3 separate regions of the Homo sapiens genome follow, and regions 2 and 3 are each linked to region 1. Evidence: promoter capture Hi-C in human tissues and cell types (Jung and others, 2019). All regions are on one chromosome and are shown on one strand. Each heading gives the region's core, a stretch centred on a gene start or on the middle of the fragment in contact. The rest is flanking DNA. Distances are from core to core; before and after follow the strand shown. Region 1 holds the start of CNBD2 (cyclic nucleotide binding domain containing 2). Region 2 overlaps MMP24-AS1-EDEM2 (MMP24-AS1-EDEM2 readthrough). Region 3 has its middle 4.9 kb from the start of MIR1289-1.

Region 1 (3,963 bases), core at 772-3,271:
CTCCAGAGATTTGAGTTCTAGTCACCAAGTTCCATTCAATATTTGACACTTGATTTGGGTGAGGTCTTCTGTTTTGCTGAGTTTTTTTTTTATTGTCCTGATTTAACCAGACTTATGGGACAGTACTATGCACCCACGTTCCAGGGCCTCCAAGTTCTAAGTCTCAGAGTGGTCCCTGGGCTAAGGTGCTGGATGAACCTACTCCCAGCCTAGAAGCCTCCCGCTGTAACAAAGTACACCCATTTTTCTATGAGATAGAGAATGAGTTATCTTTTTAAATCATCTTTTTCTTCTTTCTCTTTTGTGTTTTTCTTCTGTTCCCCACTTCCTACTTAGCTGATTAGAAATGCAGTTATAACCTTTTGCTTTCCCTTCACCAGACACTCCTAGAGCAAGTGTATCTGTGTGCTTACTTAAAAGCTCCAGAGTAGAAACCTCTCCCACCAGATTGCCTTGAGAGACAATAGTCAATTTACAACCAAAAGTATGCCTGCCAGGAAACTCTGCCCCACCTGGAGAGTATCTCGAGACAAGGCCACTTTACAACCTAGTTCTGCCCAAGATGGTGGCAGCTCGACCAGGCGGTAGATAAGGCACCAAAGTGAGTCATGGAGACTCCCACCTGCTCATTCCCTCCTCTGCATGCCATTTATGCCAATTCCCCCTCCCGCTTTTTTTTTTTTTTTTTTTTTTTTTTTTGAGACAGAGTCTTGCTCTGTCGTTCAGGCTGGAGTGCAGTGGCACAATCTTGGCTGACTGCAACCTCTGCCTCCCGGGTTCAAGTGATCCTCCCACCTCAGCCTCCCGAGTAGCTGGGATTATAGGTGCCCACCACCTCACCCGGCTAATTTTTTTGTATTTTTAGTAGGGATGGGGTTTCACCACATTGGCCAGGCTGGACCAGACCTTGCTTCTGTTAATTGGATGCTACAAATGGAGAGCAAGTGTACCTGACATTTAGCTACACTGCTTTCTTAAAAAAAAAAAAAAAAAAAAGGCCCTGGCCAGGAGTGGTGGTTTATGCCTGTAATCCCGGCACTTTGGGAGGCTGAGGTGGGTGGATCACTTGAGGTCAGGAGCTTGAGACCAGCCTGGGCAACGTGGTGAAAGCCTGTCTTTACTAAAAATACAAAAATCAGCCGGGCATGGTGGCACACGCCTGTAATCCTAGCTACTTGGGCGGCTGAGGCAGGAGAATCACTTGAATTTGGGAGGCAGAGGTTGCAGTGAGCTGAGATTGGGCCACTGCACTCCATCCTGGGAACAAAGTGAGACAGTGTCTCAAAAAACAAAAAAGCCCTATCTTTGCAGGACAGGTGAGCCCCCAAATTGAGACTTAGCTTAGGAGAGTTCTTGGCTTTGCCCAAGGAAGGAATTCAAGGGTGAGCCAGTGGTGTTAGACAGCAATCTTTTATTGAATAGTGCTTCTCCTTGTGGGGCAGGGCTAACTCATGGGCAATGAATCCGGAGTCGATACCCAGTGTATGAGATGTTGGCAACTGTATTTATGCTCATCTCTAATCCCTTCTCAGCCTTTTGGCTGAGATCAAGTGTAGTATACGCATTCCTACCCACTTTCAATCACATGCAAATTAAGGGGCAGGCTAATGCAAATTAAGGGGCAGGTTAATGCAAATTAAGGAGTGGGTTTTTAGAGTTTTCTAGGAAAGAGGTAGCAACTTCCTGGTCATTGCCAAGACATTTGTACACTGTCATGGCACTGGTAGGAGTGTCTTATGTTAATGAGGGATGGGGACAGCTAGGGGGTCCTAGATCCTGTTTTGGTCAGCAGGGTTGTGCCATTCTCCTGTCTCACCAGGACTCTGGCAGCCATTTAGCTACTTTGAGCCCCAGTCTCCTATGTATGGAGTTGAGTAAAAGTTTGGGTGGTTGTGAGGATTAGCTGAGATAATGCCTGTGAGTATCCCATAAATGTTAGACTCCCACATTCCAATCCCTGTGTCCCCTGCCTCCAGAATCTTTCATTGTGACCTTAGGAGATTCTGAGAATGATTTTTCTCAGAGCAGGGCTTCCAGTAGCTGATGGTATGGTAGGAGGAGTGGAGTGGAGCTCTTGCCTTGTTACTGAGGAAATCTATTTGTTTCTAGTATTACTGGATTTTTGGGGAAAAATTTGTAGTCCTCCCCTTGAAAGGCAAAGGGGCTAGTTGTGCCATTTGCCTGCACAGGAACCATGAGGAGACATATGGTAACTTATGCCTGGCAGCTCCTGAAGAAGGAACTGGTGAGGAGGGGCAAGGGCCCTGGGAGGGAAGAGCAGAAGACTGAACAGACAGGTGTTTTGAGGAAGGTCGATGCAGGTGTAGGAGGGGTCTTGGATGAATGGTGGCCATCCTGTACCTTTTGGAGTCACAGCATGGCACAAAGGAGGGACCCCTGCCCTGTAGCCTACCAGCCCCCCACACTGGGCAAGCCATAAGCCACACTCAGAGCCACTGAGTCCTGTTCTGTACCCACTCTTCCTGCTATTATGAGATCCAGAGAGAACGAGGGAGGATAGAGTCAGGGTAGCAACATTGAGTCATAGGTTAAGCTTGTGAACTCTGGAGCCAGACTACCTAGGTTTAAATCCCTATCACCTATTAGTCATGTGACCCCAGGCAAGTTGCTTGGTTTGCTGTGCCTTTATTTTCTCCTCTGTAAAGTGAGATGATAATACTAGTACCTACTGCATAAATTTACTGATTAAATGATTTACATATCAGAATAGTGCTTTGGATAATGCCTGACAATAGTAAATTGTACTCAGTAAGTATTAATTTTATTCATAAAGTACCTTTCCCCATATTTCCATAGATATCTAATTTTTAAGAAATAGAACATTACAGGTGTAGGGAAAGCTCTTTACCATCCCATGCCCCTTTATTTCTCTTTAATAGTAACCACTTTCCTGAAGTTGGTGTCACCCTTCCTGTTTATATTTTTATATATTATCACATGTGTATGTATCCATAAACAATATATAGTATGTGGCACACTGTTTAAAAATGATACCATAAATAGCATCATAGTTCTTTTTTCCCACTCAAAATCATTTCAGCTTTATCCACATTGACACACACAGACTTAGTGCTGTGTTCAATCCTGTGACTGAACCATAATGTATTGATCCCTTCGATCCCTACTAATGAACATTTGTTTTCAGCCATTCACTGTTACACACAATGTTGCCATGATTACCCTCATGGCTATCCCCTTGTACATGTATGTTTCTCTGAAGAGGACATATAAAGTACATACAATTCTTCCATTGTGAAGTACACACATCCTCAACTTTATATAATGTTGCCAAATTGCTCTTCAACATGGTTGTACCATGTTTCCCAGTTCCCAGTGATAAGTGCAAAATAGTATCATGTTATTACTTTAATTTCCATTTCCATTATTTCTAGCAATGTTAAAAATGGTTTCACAATTTGGCTGGGGCATGAAGGCTCATGCCTGTAATCCCAGCACTTTGGGAGGCTGAGGTGGAAGGATCACTTGAAGCCAGAGTTGGAAACCAGCCTGGGCAACAAAGTGAAACCCCCTCTTTACAAACAATGTAAATATAAATACAAATGAATAAAAACAATATTTTCACAATTTATAGGTAATTTGAACTTTCCCTTTGAATTACCTTTGCTCATTTTGCTATTGGGTTATTTGTATTTTTCTTTTGATTTGTAGGATTACAAAAAATAAATTTTGGATCGTAATCCTTTGTTGATTATATGCATAGTAAGTATATTTTTCCAGTCTGTAGTTCGTTGTCTCACTTTGTTTATGATACACTTTAAAAAGAACATTCTCTTTTTTCCTTTGTTTGTTTTTATTTATTTTTTTGAGACAGAGTCTCACTCTGTTGCCCAGGCTGGAGTGCAGTGGCGCAATTTCAGCTCACTGCAACCTCCACCTCCCAGGTTCAAGTGCTCCTGGTGCCTCAGCCTCCTGAGTAGCTGG
Region 2 (3,963 bases), core at 608-3,107, 780 kb before region 1:
TGAAGAGGAGATTAGATTTGGTTTGTGGAATTCCAGGGAACAGATTAATGAATGAGAGGAAGTCAGAGAGAAATAAATGTTAGTTTAATGTAACTTTCTGACCCAGCAATTCAATAATGGAACTGGCTGTTTCACAGAGTAGTGAACTCCCTGTTACTGGAAGTATTTGGCATGTCAAGTCCAACTTCTGACCTCTAAAACCGCATGTGACCGTCCTACATATGTTCAAAGATGATGGTCCTGTTCTCCTAAATCTTTTCTTCTTTTTTTGAGACAGAGTCTCGCTCCGTCGCCAGGCTGGAGTGCAGTGGTGTGATCTCGGCCCACTGCAATGTCTGCCTCCTCAGTTAAAGTGATTCTCCTGCCTCAGCCTCCTGAGTAGTTGGGACTACAGGCACGTACCACCAGGCCCAGCTAATTTTCATATTTTTAGTAGAGACAGGGTTTCACCATGTTGGCCAGGATGGTCTCGATCTCTTGACCTCATGATCCACCTACCTCAGCATCCCAAAGTGCTGGGATTACAGGCTGTGAACCACCGTGCCCAGCAATCTTTTCTTCTCCAGATTAAACATCTTACTTTCTTCAAGGGTTCCTTATTTGATGTGGCAGTTCAGTAACCTGCTATTGTTCTTCTGGACTTGTTACAATTTGTCAATTTCTCATGCATTTATTTAAAAAAATTTATTGAGTCGGGTCACTAGAATTACTAAATAAGAAAAAGAAAATTATTGAGTGACTTCTATGGTTCAGACGCTGTTTTAGGACGTGGGAATAGAGCAATATAGCAGAGAACAAAAACAAAGTCTGTCTTAGAAGCTACAGTTTACTGGGAGGGACAGACCCTAAACAAATAATTTTTTTTTAATGTCAGAGATAATTAGTAGGAAATAGGTAGAAAAATAAGGAAGGTCGAAGGGAGAATAACTGAGTTGCTGTTTTAGACAGCATAATCAGGGCAGGCCTCTGGAATAAGATGACAGTTGAGCAGAGATATGAAGGAAGTGCAAGAGTGGCCAGGGGAAGAACAAGCCAATTTAGATAGACCGAACAAGTGCAAAAGCTCTGAGGAGTAAGCTTGGTTTATTTCATGAACAAGGAGGCCAGTTTATCTGAAGTGGTACAGGCAAAGAGAAGAGAAAGAGCAGGAGGCAAATAACCGAGGGCCTAATAAGCCAATTATCTGTACTTTGCTATTTGTTCTGAGTGAGATGGAAAGGCATTGGAGGCTTTCGAGAAGAGGACTGACGTGATTTGACTTGCATTTGAAAAGCATCACTATGGCTACCATGGGGGGAAACAAAGTTTAAAAGGCAAAGAAATACTCAGGGACCTCCAAGGATACTCATACATTCCTGTTAGGAGGCAATAATATGGGTGAAAAATGATGGTGGCAAGGACAAGGGTGATACCACTACTTACCCATTACCCATCAGAATAGTCAGAAAGAAAAAGACAAACAAGGAAGGAAAGAAAAGACAGTATTGGCAAGGATACAGGCCAATTAGAACTTTCCTACACTGCTGTTGGTAAGGTAAATTGATATGAAACAACCACTGTTTAGAAAACCGCAGTATCTACTAAAGTTGAACATCTGCCTCCTAGGCATATGCCTAACAGAAACGTTTACCTATGTTCACTGAAAGACATATACAAGATTAGTCATAGCTGTAAGAATTAAAGAAAGAAGAGAGAAACACGAAGGGCGGCTCGACAGTCAACAGGGACAGGTTTATTCTGAATAAACTTGAGTGGGGCAGCTGGCCAAGTTAGGTCAGAGCCACACTCTCTTACAGACTAAGTGTTTTTAAGGATTCAGGGTGGGAGAATTTATCAGAGGCTTGGACTGCTTCTGTGTTTCTTTGTTGTGCTTATCTGGGAGGGAAAGTTGTGTGTCTGTTCCCATACATCTTTCTGCAGCTGCAGGCATATCCCCCGGGTTGCTTTTAGCTTCCCTATCTTAGTGCACCTGAAGGGAAAGGAATGTGCTTATTAGGGCCTACTGTTTTACTGGGAGCCATCGTATGAGGGTGAAGTTTGGCAGTTACCCAGGAGACTTTCCCCCCACCTCCCTCTGTACCCAAGCTGTCTTATCTATGTTTTACTGTCTGCTCTTTCTATTTGTACTTAGAAGAGAGTGATTTCCTTGAAATGCACGAGGCTAGAAAGGGAGCTGGAACTTAAAGTGGCAGTGTTTGTTCGAGATGACAGTGCTCCTGCTCTGTCAATAGCAGTATTCTTTGTAATATCCCCAACTAAAAAGTACCCAAACACCATCAAGAATAGAATAATGAAACAAATTATACTATATTTACATAATGGAATATACAACGAGAGTAGAAAAACTTAAACTACAAGTCTTAATATAAGTGAATGTCACAAATATAATATTGATCAAAAGAAGCCAAACACAAAAAAGTATAAACTATATGATTACATTTATATAAATTTCAAAGACACACAGAACTAACCTGTGGTGTTAGAAGCCAGGATATTGGTTACATTTGGGAAGCTAATGATTAGAAGGGAGACATGAGGGCTTCTGAGGCAATGCCCTGTTTCTTTCTTTCTTTTTTTTTTTTTTTTAAGATGGAGTCTCGCTCTGTCACCAGGCTGGAGTGTAGTGGCGCAATCTCGGCTCACTGCAACCTCCACCTCCCAGGTTCAAGCCATTCTCCTGCCACAGCCCCCCGAGTAGTTGGGCCTACAGGCGCATGCCACCACGCCCAGCTAATTTTTGTACTTTTAGTAGAGACGGGGTTTCACTGTGTTGGCCAGGATGGTCTTGATCTCTTGACCTCGTGATCTGCCTGCCTCAGCCTCCCAGAGTGCTGGGATTACAGGCATGAGCCACCGCACCTGGCCTGCCCTGTTTCTTAATCTGGATGCTGGCTATATCAATAGGCTCACTTTGTGAACATTCACTAAGTTGTACATTTATAATTTGAGCACTTTCCTGTATCAGTGTTATGCCTCAATAAAGTTTACATTACAAAGGAATGACTCAGAGGTTTTGATCTGTGCAACTGGAGGCTATAATTGACATTTATTGAAATGGGGAAGCTATAGAAGAAGCAGGTTTTGGTGGGAAATGCATTCATTATGTACATACTACATTTGATATTTATTAGACATCCAAGTTGAAATGCTGATAGAATGCAGTTGGTATACAAGTCTGCAGTTGAGGGAAATGTCTAGGCTGAAGACCTAAATTTGAGAGCTCACTATATAGATAACATGTAAACTCATAAAGCTGGATGGGATCACCTAAGGAATAGTCTAGACAGAGAAAACATTCAAGTACTAAACCCTGAGGACGCCCCAACATTTAAAGGCTGGAAATTGAGGAGAAACCAGTAAAGAAAACTGAGTAGCCAGTGAGGTGTGATAAGAGCTGAGAGAGTGGAATCTCAGAAGCCAGGTGAAAAAAGTGTTCTAAGGAGGAAGTAACCACTGTAACAGATACAGCAGATAGTGGAATAAGGTAAGGACTGATCATCGGTTATTGATGGAGATCACTGGAGACCTTGATAAACAGCAGTTTTGGTGGTGTGGTAGGGACAAAAGCCTAATTAGAATGAGCTCAAGAAACAAACTAATTTGAGACAGTGACTATAAATAACTCTTTTGAGGAGTTTGGTTTGTTTTACAGAAGAACAGAGAAGTAAGATATTAAAAAGAATATTAATTAAGGATATGAAGCAGTGTTGGGTTAAGTAACTAAGGAGGCTTATGGGATCAAGAAAAGTTTTTTCTCTTAATAAGGTAGATAATAAAGTATGTTTGTACACTTACAGGGATAATCAATAGAGAGGGAAAATTTGATGACACAAGAAAAAGAGAGGGCAGTGGCTGGAGTGATGTCCTGGAGCAGGTTATAAAAGAGGTTAGACTCCAAGGCACAAATGGAGAGACCAACTTAGCTAAGATCATGGACAGTTCCTCTAGGGAGGAAAGAGCTAG
Region 3 (3,963 bases), core at 917-3,416, 520 kb before region 1:
CCGGTGTGTGATGTTCCCCTTCCTGTGTCCAAGTGTTCTTATTGTTCAATTCCCGCGTGTTCTCACTCATAGGTGGGAATTTAACAATGAAAACCTGGTTTCTTTTCTAGACTCCGCAGCAGTGGCCACTGCTCAGGACGCGCTCTCAAGGGCTCCCCCTGCTGGGATACTCGGGAGCTGCACCTTGCTAGAGTTGAGTGTCTCTGGGCCTTCTGTCCATAAGTCAATCAAATTCCTTCCCTGGGCTGCAAATACCTGTACTACAATCTGAAGCTGGAAATTGTATGTGAGTGTTGCGTGTGTCTGTCTGTTGTGGGTAGAGGGGTGTGAATAAAATAACCACATGTTTTACATATTTATTCTAGAAAATATTTTTATTTTTAAAATAATTCTAAAACTTATAAAAAGTCATACATATTAGGAAGAAAAGTAATATGAATTCATGATTTTAAAAATTCAAACAGTAGAAAAGAATGCAAAAGAAAATATTTTCCTCCCACCCCAGACCCTGGGTCTTTCAGTCCTCCCCAGAAGCAACAACTCTGATCAGTCTCCTAGATGACTTTCCACACAATATAGTAACATCAGCTTTTTAAAAACTTTATTAGGCAGGGCACGGTGGCTCATGCCTGTAATCCCAGCACTTTGGGAGGCTGAGGCGGGAAAACTGCCTGAGCCCAGGAGTTGGAGATCAGTCTGAGCAACATGGCACAAGCCCGTCTCTATAAAATAAAAAAAAAATTTAAACACCTTTTTATCGATGCATGATATTCATACCAAATATATTTGATTATAAAATTAAATCATGTTCATTGTAAAAATATTCAAATAATACCAAAGTTTATAAAGTTAAAAGAGAAAGTTCCCCTCTCCCCTCACACCCCAATCTCTCTAATCACAGGAAACCTCTCTAATCACTGGAAACCTTGTTGTCATTCTTGAGCTCAGAAATCTCAGATCCTTGCTGGACTCCTCCACTCCTCCTTCCCTCCATCTAATTCTAATTCCCACTTTGTGTATAAGAACCCTAGCTGGTAAGTACTGTTATCCCCATATTGCAGCTGAGGAATTTGAGGCTCAGAAAGGGAAAGAGGGTTGCTCAAGAACATAAGGCAAGCTGGACGCGGTGGTGCACATCTGTAGTCCTGGCTACGGGACTTTTTGTTTTTTTCAAAAAAAAAAAAAAAAATATATATATATATATAGTTAAGGGCCCCCCCGACTTTTTTTTTTTTTTTTTTTTTGTCTCACTCTGTCACCCAGGCTGGAGTGCAGTGGAGCAATCTTGGCTCACTGTAACCTCCTCCTCACAGGTTCAAGCGATTCTTGTGCCTCAGCCTTCCGAGCAGCTGGGATCACAGGTGCACGACACCAGGCCCGGCTAATTTGTGTATTTTTAGTAGAGACAGGGTTTCGCCATGTTGGCCAGGCTGGTCTCAAACTTCTGGCTTCAAGCGATCCACTTGCCTCCACCTCCCAAAGTGCTGGGATTACAGGCATGAGCCATCAGGCCTGACCAAGGGCCCATTTTTGAGGAAGGAGAGGACCTGGTCCTGTGGGAACTGTGACTGGACATCCTTTATTGCCCAAGCCCTGAGTGATAGTGAAAAGATGTCATCCACTTCAAGAATCTCAAGCTTGGGTACGCTGGTCACTTCGAGCCTGACTTAGTGAGTGAGAGGGGGCTAGGACTGGAATAAGAACTGCCTACTGAGGCGGGGTCAGGACCAGGGAGAAAATATCCAGCTGACAAAGGGAATCCAACTAGGGAGATTGACACAATTCAACCAGATGGTGGCATCAGCAAGAGGAGTGTCCGGCATTCCTAACACATCCCATGCTCTAGCATGCTGCTGTGCCTTTGCACATGCTGCTTGGAATCCCCGCCACCACCCCACCCCTGCCACTTTGCTTAGCATTTTTTTTTGAGATGGGGTCTTGCTATGCTGCCCAGGCTGGTCTCAAACTCCTAAGCTCAAGAGGTTCTTCTGACTCAGCCTCTTGAGTGGGTGGGACTACAGCCACATGCCACCATGCCTGGCTTGTCTGCTTAGCATTTTTTTTTTTTGAGACAGGGTCTTGCTGTGTTGCCCAGGTTGGAGTGCAGTGGCTTGAACACAGCTCACTGCAGCCTCAACCTCCTGGGCTCAAGCGATCCTTCCTACCTCAGCCTCCAGAATAGTTGGGACTACAGTAGTGCACCACCACACCTGGCTAATTTTAGCGTTTTTATCCTTCACAAACAAGTCATAGTGGCCTGATGCTGTGTAGCCAGCTGCTCCCTCTTTATAGAATTTACTACACTGTGTGTGTGTGAACTATTTCTTTACTTGCTTGCCTGCCATGTGAGTTTGTGAACAGAGGCTCTGGACAGAGTTCATTTATTATTGTTCTTTGGGTCCCTCCCAGTGCATAACTCAACTTTTGGCACACAGTAGGTGCTCAATCAATATTTTAAAAATAATGAATGAATGGAACTTCAGCGCGGCAGCTCAAGCCTATAATCCCAGCACTTTGGGAGGCTAAAGTAGGAACATTGCTTGATGCCAGGAATTCAAGACCAACCTGGACAACACAGTGAGTCCCCATCTCTACAAAAAAATTTTTAAACAAATTAGCCAGGACTGGTGGCACAGGCCTATAGTCTTAGCTACTCGGGAGGCTGAGCCAGGAGGATCGCTTGAGCCCAGGAGATTGAAGCTGCAGTGAGCTATGATCAAATCACTGCACTCCAACCTGAGTGAAAGAGCAAAACCCTGTCTCTTAAAAAAAAAAAAAGAGAGAGAGAGAGAATGGGCCGGGCGTCGCGGCTCACGCCTGTAATCCCAGCACTTTGGGAAGCCGAGGTGGGCGGATCACTTGAGGTCAGGAATTCAAGACCAGCCTCGCTAACATGGTGAAACCCCATCTCTACTGAAAAAAAAAAAAAAAGCTGGGTGTGGTGGTGGTGGGCGCCTGTAATCCCAGCTTCTCAGGAGGCTGAGGCACGAGGATCACTTGAACCCAGGAGGCGGAGGTTGCAATGAGCCAAGATCGTGCCACTGCACTCCAGCCTGGGCTACAAAGTGAGACTCTGTAAAAAAAAAAAAAAAGAATGGACTCAGAGGAACAGCAGCAAGAGACTATCGTTTTGGTGCTCCAGACTGTTACCTTGCAGTGAGAAAGAAAGAGGAAAGTGGTTGACTTTTTTTCCCTCTATTTTTCCCTCTCTGTCATCCTCAGCTCACTTTAGTCACTCAACATGTCTCCATGTTAACATGGAGAGGAAGATGGGGGTGGGAAAAGTCTTCTTTGAACCAGTGTAATAGCTGGCTTAGTGCTTTCTGGGCCTCGCAGATGTTTATAGCCATCTCTATCCATCATCAAAGCATCATGGGGTGCTTTTATACACTCTTCAGGGGTTCCCTACTGGCCCCTCTCCTGCAGTTCCCTTAGCAAAGGCATCTATTAATGGCCATTTGTCTAGCTTCTTGTTCCTGGGGTCCCTTTATACCTCCAGGAAGCCCTACTGAACAGGACCTAATAGTCAGCAGGCTTGTCTCTTCTTGCTAGAGTTCACAGGCAGGAAGCATATCCTGGTCACGATACTCCCTAAGTGCAATGGTATGGATTCTGCATCTCAGATTCTCATGGAAGCCCCCTCTCCTAGTCACTTGGTTTGAGCGGTTAAAAGTAATGTCCTCTTAATCTTCCCCAAGGAGGAATGGGGACTCATAGCCAGAAATATCTCCACACAAATTATCTATCCTCCACCTGCAGACCCCTTTATATTGGGATAAGGGATTTAGGAACTTTCAAACAGATTTTAGACTAACAGAAAAAAAAAAAAAAAAAAAAAAATATATATATATATATATATATATATATACACAAATATATATGTAGTGATTTAGCACCTCATTTTGAAATTTCACATACATATATATATATATTTTTTAATTCAGTTAGTCCAGACGGCCTCTT

Evidence for each region. The method cuts DNA at HindIII sites, captures the fragments that hold promoters and counts their contacts. A contact is called where the count stands out against the background at its distance.
Region 2: a contact is called between a fragment that was not itself captured here and the fragment with the promoter of CNBD2 in region 1, in 1 of the 25 tissues and cell types used here (dorsolateral prefrontal cortex).
Region 3: a contact is called between a fragment that was not itself captured here and the fragment with the promoter of CNBD2 in region 1, in 1 of the 25 tissues and cell types used here (lymphoblastoid cells).

The regions. Positions count from the first base shown.
Region 1 is chr20:35,966,569-35,970,531 of GRCh38, forward strand. It overlaps CNBD2 (cyclic nucleotide binding domain containing 2), which reads left to right and starts at 2,022. Exons shown (of 12, transcript NM_001365709.1): 1 at 2,022-2,245. The coding sequence starts at 2,195. It also overlaps the pseudogene LOC124904982. The HindIII fragment of the contact is 12,223 bases long and covers 1-3,963 here.
Region 2 is chr20:35,190,609-35,194,571 of GRCh38, forward strand. All of the region lies in intron 4 of MMP24-AS1-EDEM2 (MMP24-AS1-EDEM2 readthrough), which reads right to left. It also overlaps a transcript of PROCR not described here. Among named protein-coding and RNA genes, the nearest start is that of PROCR, 21 kb to the left of the region's middle. The HindIII fragment of the contact is 4,534 bases long and covers 1-3,963 here.
Region 3 is chr20:35,447,226-35,451,188 of GRCh38, forward strand. It overlaps a transcript of GDF5 not described here. Among named protein-coding and RNA genes, the nearest start is that of MIR1289-1, 4.9 kb to the right of the region's middle. The HindIII fragment of the contact is 8,774 bases long and covers 1-3,963 here.